2 separate regions of the Homo sapiens genome follow, and region 1 is linked to region 2. Evidence: promoter capture Hi-C in human tissues and cell types (Jung and others, 2019). All regions are on one chromosome and are shown on one strand. The core of a region is centred on a gene start or on the middle of the fragment in contact, and the rest is flanking DNA. Distances in the headings are between cores, read along the strand shown.

Evidence for each region. The method cuts DNA at HindIII sites, captures the fragments that hold promoters and counts their contacts. A contact is called where the count stands out against the background at its distance.
Region 1: a fragment that was not itself captured here is called in contact with the fragment with the promoter of TNFRSF19 in region 2 in 1 of the 25 tissues and cell types used here (mesenchymal stem cells).

Annotation. Positions count from the first base shown.
Region 1 is chr13:23,529,144-23,534,222 of GRCh38, reverse strand. LOC124903135 (a long non-coding RNA gene) reads right to left here. Exons shown (of 3, transcript XR_007063720.1): 3 at 1,706-3,084. Among named protein-coding and RNA genes, the nearest start is that of TNFRSF19, 39 kb to the left of the region's middle. The HindIII fragment of the contact is 7,595 bases long and covers 1-5,079 here.
Region 2 is chr13:23,566,957-23,571,879 of GRCh38, reverse strand. TNFRSF19 (TNF receptor superfamily member 19) reads right to left here and starts at 1,468. Exons shown (of 10, transcript NM_148957.4): 1 at 1,032-1,468. RefSeq lists enhancers at 3,033-3,544, 3,545-4,057. The HindIII fragment of the contact is 2,276 bases long and covers 1,222-3,497 here.

The sequences.
Region 1 (5,079 bases), core at 1,271-3,770, 39 kb after region 2:
ATTTACATATACGTCTAGAACAGGCAAAACTGATCTGTAGTAACAGAAAGCAGACCTGTGGTTGCCAGGGGCTGACCATGTGGGATTAACAGGTGAGTATATGTTAGTTAAGACAATTTGGGGTACAAATAATACAAAACCCAACCAACAATGATTTCAATAATGAGGCAAATGTGAGCCTTGCATAACATAAATATAGAGATAGCACAGGGAATTTTTGGAGGGTGATGGAAATGTTCTATATTGAGACTGAATGTAACCATGGTTGGTTACATTTGCCAAAACCCACTGAATTGTATACTTAGAATGCATGCACTTTATTGTATGTAAACAAACTTCGTGGCAATATAAGATACATGTAATAAAATGGTAAAGCTGGTGTAAAGAAAAAAGGCTCTTTAACATTATGGAGAAATAAAACGTTGCAATGTTGGATTTGCTAATCTTTAGAGTTTTTACATCAATGTTAATTAATTTGGTCTGTGATTCTTCCCTCCCTCCCTCCCTTCTTTCTTTCTTTCTTTTTCGACTGAGTCTCACAATCTCGGCTCACTGCCAACCTCCGCCTCCCAGGCTGAAGCGATTCTCCTGCCTCAGCCTACCGAGTAGGGCTGGGATTACAGGCACGCACCACCACGCCCAGCTAATTTTTGTATTTTTAGTAGAGATGGGGTTTCACCGTCTTGGCCAGGCTGATCTCAATCTCTTGACCTCATGATCCGCCCTCCTTGGCCTCCCAAATTGCTGGGATTACAGGCAGAAGCCACTGCACCCTGCCCTCTACCAAGTTCCTTAGGCATTTTCTATACTCTCCTTTTTCTTGGGGGTAAAGCTGAAATCTACTATCCCATTTCTCAGAGTTTAAGACATAATTGTTGTAATCTGTGCTATAAATTCAATAATATATTTTCAGGAAAAAGAAATATTTTCATATTAAATACATACATTGAAAGATAGATCATTTTAGAAGCATTAAATTATGAAAAACGAATTATAACCAGAAAAATATGGTGATTATTTTCTCTGCTCAAATAAATTTTCAACTTGGTAGAGATGAAACAATTAGAGCACTATTGGAGCTAAAGAGCATATAGACAGTTGAGTGTCTGTTAGCTAAGACAATTTTGGGTACAAATAATAAAATATCCAACCAAAAATGGCTTAAACAATGGGGAAAACGTGAACCTTGCACAAAATATAGAAATAGGGCAGTTTCATGGTGAATTCAAACATTCAAATGCTGTCTTTCTTGTGCAGCTTAATATGTTGGCTTGGCTCAGCACAGTCACAGGTGGACAGCCCAGTTCCACGCAGCACGTGTAGACCAGGCAATATACAACCACCAAGAGGGATCTTGCTTCCTATTGTGTCCGGAATTGGTGGGTTCTTGGTCTCACTGACTTCAAGAATGAAGCCGCGGACCCTCGTGGTGAGTATTACAGTTCTTAAAGGTGGTGGGTCCAGAGTTTGTTCCTTCTGATGTTCGGACTTGTTCGGAGTTTCTTCCTTCTGGTGGGTTCGTGGTCTCGCTGGCTTCAGGAGTGAAGCTGCAGACCTTCGTGGTGAGTGTTACAGCTCTTGAGGTGGCGCGTCTGGAGTTGTTCATTCCTCCCGGTGGGTTCATGGTCTCGCTGGCCTCAGGAGTGAAGCTGCAGACCTTTGCAGTGAGTGTTACAGCTCATAAAGGCAATGTGGAACCAAAGAGTGAGCAGCATCAAGATTTATTGCAAAGAGCAAAAGAACAAAGCTTCCACAGCGTGGAAGGGGACCCCAATGGGTTGCCACTGCTGGCTCCAGCAGCCTGCTTTCATTCCCTTATCTGACCCCACCCACTTCCTGCTGATTGGCCCATTTTACAGAGAGCTGATTGGTCTGCTTTGGCAGCATGCTGATTGGTGAATTTACTATCCCTGAGCTAGACACAGAGTGCTGATTGGTGTATTTACAATCCTCTAGCTAGACGTAAAAGTTCTCCAAGTCCCCACTAGATTAGCAAGGCACAGAGCACTGATTGGTGTATTTACAAACCTTAAGCTAGACACAGAGTGCTGATTGGTGCGTCTACAAACCTTGAGCTAGACACAGGGTGCTGATTGGTGCGTTTACAAACCTTGAGCTAGATACAGAGTGCTGATTGGTGTATTTACAATCCTCTAGCTAGACATAAAAGTTCTCCAAGTCCCTACTAGATTAGCTAGACACAGAGCACTGATTGGTGCATTTACAAACCTTGAGCTAGCCACAGTGTGCTGACTGGTGCATTTACAAACCTTGAGCTAGCCACAAAGTGCTGATTGGCACATTTACAAACCTTTAGTTAGACATAAAAGTTCTCCAAGTCCCCACCTGACTCAGGAGCCCAGCTGGCTTCGCCTAGTGGATCCCGCTCCAGGGCCACGTGAGGAGTTGCCCGACCATCCCATGCTGCGTGCCCACACTCCTTTGCCATTGTGTAGTCGATGGGACCAGGCTCCGTGGAGCAGGGGGGGTTAGGGCATGGCGGGCTGCAGGTCCCAAGCCCTGCCCCGCAGGGAGGCGGCTGAGGCCCGGCAAGAATTTGAGCATGGCACAGGTGGGCCAACAGTGCTGGGGGACCCGGTGCACCCTCCACAGCTGAGCCCACGCCCACCCGGAACTCGTGCTGGCCCCAGTTCCTGCCCATGCCTCTCCCTCCACACCTCCCCACAAACAGAGGGAGCCGGCTCTGGCCTCAGCCAGCCCAAAGAGGGGCCCCCACAGTGCAGTGGTGGGCTGAAGGGCTCCTTGAGCATGGCCAGAGTGGACGCCGAGGCTGAGGAGGCACTGAGAGTGAGCGAGGGCTGCTAGCACATTGTCACCTCTCAATCCCCCCTCTAAACTGGACACTCCAACTGCTGTTGGGAATTTGGCCGATGACTGCTCTAGCTACTTCCTGCTGGATAGGGGTGATGAAGGGGCCCTGCAGTTGTAGTGTCCTCCAGAGGGGAACTCTTTAGGCCAGTGGAAGGGCCAGCAGGTCAGTCCAGGTGTCCTCGGTAGAAGTTGTTAGTTGAACTCATTTGGGGTTCCATTTGTAAGACCATCTGTAGCTTGATGGCCTCGATTCTAGAGGAAACAAATTTGACAAGAAGGTTAAAAATACAGGGCCCAAAGGCAAGTAACAGCAAGATGGCTGCCACAGGACCTAGAAAGGGGAGGGAGAAGCCATGTGGCCCAACTCCAGAGGTTGGTATAAGAGTTTGAAAGACGTTGCCTGATTTCAGAAGCCTTTTCCTGTAAACACCGGGTGGCATCTCACACTATCCATGACTGGTTAGTGTAAAAACAACAGTCTTCCCCTAAGAAGGTGCAGAGTCCTCCTTTCTCAGCAGTGAGGAGGTCTAGGCCTCGGTGGTTTTGGAGAGTCACTGCTGTCAAAGAGTCTATTTGGGATTGTAGAGTAAGGATAGATTTCGTTATTTCTTGCAAACTGTCTGAAAAATCCTTTGAGAGTGTCTGGTAGTAGGATAATGAAGTAGATAAACTGGCTATTCCGGTTCCTGTAGCAGTAACTATTCCTAACCCTGTAAGTAGTGGTATCAGTTGTATGGCTCTGCACTGACAGACTTGAGTTTTGAGGGGTACTGATAGGCTCTGATTTCCTGGGGCAATGTTAATGTTGGGACTTAGAAAGACTAAGGTGCAGGTGCCTATCCAGTTAGTGGGGAGGCAGATGTAGGTCCACATTCCACATAGGAAGAATATACCTTGGCTGGGTAGACAGAACTTTACCCTGGCTTTTAAAGGAATAGGATACACTGTTTTTTCTTTACTACTTCTATCTCTGTCTTTGACTTCTTCGTCTCTCTCTTTCTGACTGCCTCTGTCTGTCTCTTCCTCTCTCTGTCTCCTTCTCTTTGACTTCCTGTCTTTCTCTTTCTCTCTTTGTCTCTCTATCTCTTCCTCTCTGACTTCTTGTCTCTTTCTGTCTTTCATTTCTTCTGCCTCTGCCATATGCTTATGCTGCTGTTCTCCCTTCTCCTTCCCCTTTTGATGGCTTTGGCAGTGTAAGACTGCCACCTTCTTCGGTTTTTGCACTATGTACAGTAACTCCATGATTTCCTTGTGGCATTTAATGGGGGTTCCCCGAGGTTGGGAACTCCCTTTCTTTCCATATTGCAGCATGGGCATGTAGGATTACATAAGCATACTTGCTATCTGTATACACATTTATTCTTTTTCCCTTTCCCAGTACTAAGGCTCGGGTAAGTGCCACTAGTTCTGCTAACTGGGCACTTGTCCCTGGGGGAAGAGGCTTACTTTCAAGTACAGTTACATCACTAACTATGGTGTAACCTGCCCTTCGTATCCCATTCTTCACAAATGAACTTCCATTGGTATATAGGTTAAGGTCAGGATTAGCTAAGGGGACTTCTAAGAGACCATCTCGGGTGGCATAAGTCTGGACTATAATTTGTTGGCAGCCATGCTCAATTGGTTCCCCATCCTCTGGGAGAAAAGTGGCAGGGTTGAGGGCCACGCACATGCATATTTGAAGCACCAGTCTCTCAAGAAGTAGTGCCTGGTATCTAAGTAGGTGGTTGTCTGATAGCCATAAACTTCCTTTGGCACCTAGTGTGCCATTTACATCATGAGTAGTCCAGACAGTGAGATCTTTTCCTTGTAGTATCTTGATAGCCTCTGACACTAAGATGGCCACCACCACAGTGAGGCCAGCCTTTTGATACTACATCAATTTCCTTACTTATGTATACCTGCCACTGGTTGTGTGGTTGTCCCACGAGTCTGAGTAAGGACTCCAAGAGCTATCCCTGCTCTCTCTGTGACGTATAAAGAGAAGTTTTGTCCTGTCAGAAGGCTTAAAACTGGAGCTTGTGCGAGGGCCTGCTTTAAGGTTTTGAAGGCTGTTTCTGCCTCTGGTTCCCATTCTACTAGATGAATATTTGCCCTCTGGGTTTCCTTGATTAGAGTATAGAGGGGCCTGGCTATCTCGCTGTATCTGGGGATCCATGGTCAGCAAAAGCCAGTAATTCCAAGGAACCCCCGCAACTGTTTTAATGTCTTAGGGCAAGGATAAGCCAGTATAGGCTGTATTCATTC
Region 2 (4,923 bases), core at 219-2,718:
AAAAAAACATCGCGAACAAAGTAACAGTGTTACTTTTCCATTGTATTTAGTTTTTATATTTCACTGTAAAGATTTTACTGTGTGTGTGTGTGAGCGTGAGTGTGTGTGTATCATGAACTGACAAAAAAATAACAGTTAACTTTCAAATTCGGTACAGCAATATAATTTGGTTTTGTCATGTTGGGCATTAGCTAAAGTGAAAATGTGACTAAGATACTTTATGTAACATAATAACTGTTGATTACTCAGATAGTTTTCATAAACAGTTGGCAAATTTTGACTTAAAACAGCTGTCACTATAAATGTAAAGTAAATGTTAATTTAGGAATATTAACCTTGTGAATGTTTCTGTAAATAAGGCTTATGCTATTTCCAAAGGTTATAGAAAATCACTGGAGTATTTTTAGCCAAACTTAGTGCAACTTTATCCTCACTGTTTTTAAATTCTTCAGTTTTACACATAAAAGTCTTTAATCATACTTGATGGTTTTTCAGTGATTCCCTTGAGTGTACAAACTGCATAAGGAAGTGTATTTGATAGATTTACATCTTGGAAGTGAGAGAATAAATAAACTAAAGAAACAGTATTGCCAGAGATACATTTTACTCTTTTATATAAGAAAACAAAGAAAGCATTTTCAACAAGCAAAGTTGCACTGACTGTTTACTAAATAAGGTAACCTGTAAATACTTAGAGCAATTATAGCTCACAGATCTCAGGGGTTGAAGTACCAGTTGCATGCTAAAGTGAGCGCTGTTCTGTTTTGTCCTGTTTGTACAACTCATTTCCAAGTAAAATTTGTATGACAGACTGCAAACCCTCTTGTACAAACTACTAAAAATTACATCAAGTTCCATAGTTACTCTGATACACACATTCAGCATCATGTAGTATTCAGCTGTATAAATGCTTTCTAAAAAATTAATTAAAACCATTCTTTTCTCAGAACACATGCGAAAAATGCAGTGAAAGCTATAACAAAGCTTAAAACAGAGTACCTGCAACATGCTGAGCTCTTTGCAGTACTTACCCGTTCAGCAACTTAGTTTCTCCTGGCAGCACTTCTGTGCCAAATGCTTCTACCTTCCCAAAAATGTATGTCAGCACAAGCCCAGACGAAACTTCAAATCCAGGAAAATAAAATTAACCATGCAGATCAAAGGCAGACGAGCAGGGAGATGAAATGCCTGTAATCTGATCAGTGAATCAGTTGCTGAACATCAAAGGCAGGGCTGAGTTTATATATATGCATGGATATCAAAGAAAGTTCACTTTCAGCAGGTAGTTACCCTCCCACCTCCTAGTCCACAGACTCTTTTGTTAAACATGGATCACGTTGTTTTCCTCCTCTTTTTTGCAATGAGGCAATGCTGGTAGTTCTCCCATGCTTGGGCTGAGTGGCTGGATCTGTAGCTTTTTTGGTTCCCAAGCTGTGTTGTGGACTGTGTGTTGGAAGCTTTTCCTAGTGCCAGCGGGTTCTGCTTTATCCCTTTCATCTCGCTGAACTGCAGATCCCATGACATCATTCAGCGCCGTGGGACTGGTAGGAGAGCTATAATTCAGCCTGTGGGGGAGTATAGCTCAAGAGAAGCCAGAGTTTGGCTGATTTCTAATCATGTTAGACTATTGTGCCTCACACAGGACAGTTTCTGTTATCTGTCTGCCAGCTGGAAAGGACAGCAACTGCTGCTGGATGCTTCTTGGGTGATAAGATCCCTGATGGATGGACGTGCCAAATGACAGCATTTAATTGCCTCTTCGCTGATAAAAATCACAATTTCCTACAGAGACTGGGTGTCAAATATTCAGCATAGTTAAATAGCACTATGAGACCACTCTAAAAAACACCCAAGGACACTGCCAGATGGACCGATAACATTTTCACATTTTGATTCCAGTTTTCAAAGTGACAAGTCTTTAAGGATTTTAAGGAAACTGCCCTTTCTTTGAAACATACATTATTAGGATCTGATTACCAATCAAACCGGGTTGTGTTAAGTAGTTAAGCAGCAGATAACCAACAATTCATGAATAAACTGCCATCTTCCACTGGCTCACTTAAGACTTTGGGCGGAGACTTAATCTCAATCTTTGCCTTAGTTCGGGACTCTGGAAATTAGATTTTAAAGCAATATCTACTTCTTAGACATATTTCATTAATACTTGTTGAGCATTTTAAAATTCACAAAAGAAGAATTATGTAGAACAAAGCATTTGCCCTGTGATTATTCCAAAGCCATGTTATTTGCCTTTTAGGGCTGTTTCTTCCGAACTCATAGTTTGGACTTTCAACTCACTAAAAAATTACCACCTTAGCCTAATTCTTCGTATTTTAAAATTAAATATATTGCTCATTATTTAAAAATTTTAAGCTATTTTCCTTAACAATGTCAGATTCAATACAATATGATTATTTTATTTTGAGTATTTAGTAAAATAGAAGATAAGAAGAAGTTTCATCTTCCTTGAAATCCAGGATATGGTGCTTTTCTGATTTTCAGACAGTTCTTTCATGGAATGAAGACAATTTTTCTATTTTATAATGGAAACTCACTAACTTTTAGAAAGTAAGTTAAAAATATTTTTGCAAAACTTAGGGGATAGTAGAACTCAGTCTTTTTCAATGTAACTTCCCTCCTTAACTGGTTTTGTCTAATTTTTCCTGACGCGATATTTGAAAACGTTATTTATGAAGTGTTTATTTCCAGATTTCTATGATTCTTGAATAATTTTAATAGCAAAATATTTAGTTTGAACTGTTCATAAGTTCTGTATAACATTTAAATAGTCCTGTTGATTTTTCCATGTTTCTTGTATAATTTTTCTACTTATACATCATTTCTCAAAAATGCACAGGGCTCAAATAGTATTTGAACTGGCAGGTGTGATGCTTAAGGACTTCCTTAAAGCAGACCAGGAAAATTCCTGTGACATCTGGGCTTCACATACGTTTCCTGGGCATCTTGAACCCATGAATACAAAGAAAATATTTACAAAGACAAAATATTTACAAGAAGGCATGTGCCCATTTCTTTTCTGAGGTAGTCCAAACCTACCACCAGCATGGAATCCATATGCCAACAGCCTGCACTCAGGATTAAAGTTTCCCGATACACTGATATATTAAATCAGAGCAACTAGACACTCTGTAAGGCTCATTGGCTAAGCAAGTAGATTTTATGTCTTTATAGATTTCAACACCAGTAGAAATAGGTGAAGGACTGAATTCGGGTTCTTGTGTTCCACTGAAAAACATACAGGAGGCACTTGAAAGCAGGGACTTGAATGAAAACCAATCAAATGATCTTCAATTTATACAAATCTCCCCAAGCAAGCTTTGTAGTTCAAGATACATCCAACAATGCAATACCATCTCCAGTGGAAGAGTTTATTCACCAAGTCACTGGATATTATTTTGAATTGGTCCTCTTGTGGCCAAGAACTCCCCATATGTGAGATGAAAGGGGACTGAGGCTAGGGCCCCATCTGTCGCCTGGACCAGAGTGTGGCTAAAGGTCGGCCTGGCTGCAGGAGTGACCTCTTGACCTGCGGCTCATTTAGCACTGTGCCCAGCCAGCCGAGCCCCCTTCGTTGTGAGGTGTGGCCTGCACCATTGTTGTTTCTGAACAGCACCAGGAAGGGGAGCTACTACAAAGCTTTTCTCTTTCCCCTTCAAGAAGCTTAGATTAGTGTGATTAAATCAGTGTGATACAGTGGTGATAAGAGATCCAGCACTCCACTCGACATCATTGTCCGTTGTCATGACACCAAGTTACAGCATTTGATCAATGGTTCCTGTGCCATGTTGCAGTACACTTGGCTCATCTTAGTCTTTTTGTCAAGCTGCCTTTCAGCGACCTGGTTCTGCAAAGTGGTTGTGGCAGCCATTGGATCCACAGTGGGGAGCTCCAGGCTACACTTTAAAAGAAGTGGTCAGTGTTTGAGATGACGGGCATGCCAGTTACCCTGATCTGATCACTATACCTTATAGGTATAGAAATGTCACTAGGTGCCCAGGGATATGTATAATTATTATTAATCAGTTAAAAAATAAAATAAATGATTGAGAAAACTTCAGTTGTTCATATCCAAGAAGGGAGGGGCTGCCTGAGATTCCTGATGGGGAGTGGGGTCTCATGTCACCCCCAGTCGCCACCATGTGCTATTTTCTTCCCAAAACTTGGAGCGTGGTTCCTTTGCTCCTTTATCTTGACAGGTGGATGCCATGAATTCTCACCATTTTAAGATATAGATCAGGTGATAACACATTTTCCCCATAAAGTTTCATAGTTTTTTGAGTTGTCTGCATGTCTTTTCTAATGCCGTCTTTTCTAACTTTTCTGTTCAGAGGATATATCCTGGATTAGATCAGATAAACACAGATCTATTACATACATTGAGAGGAATAATTTCTGCATTTGTTTCAACTGAACACTTTTTAGAAAATGAAATAGCTCATGGTTATGAAAAGAACACGGATGCTGGAGTCAGAAAGGCCTATGTTCAAATCCCTCTTACTACCTGTACTTGAATAACAGCTTAGGCAGTGTGGACGAAGGCTACCTAGTCCCACTGAGCTTTTTAATCCTAAGCTGCAGGAAGGGGATAACACCTACCTCATTAGTGTTGCCAAAATAACAAACTTATTTCGAAAGCATCAGGCAGAATAAACCCTCAACAGAAGAGCTAAGGTTCCTTTCTTTTCTCTGTAACTATTAAAATGCCAACATTTTAGCTAGGGGATCCAATTCAAACTTCAGTATTCTAAAGGGGCAGGACAGGCTCTCACACAGCTCCTGGGCTGGTTATTCAAAGCCAAGGTAGCCCAGACATCCTCAGGTCCTTCACAATGCTGGGACCACTTGTACATGATCTGGGACCAGTAGCTGCTATCTGGGACTGTGGTCCACATAATCACAGAA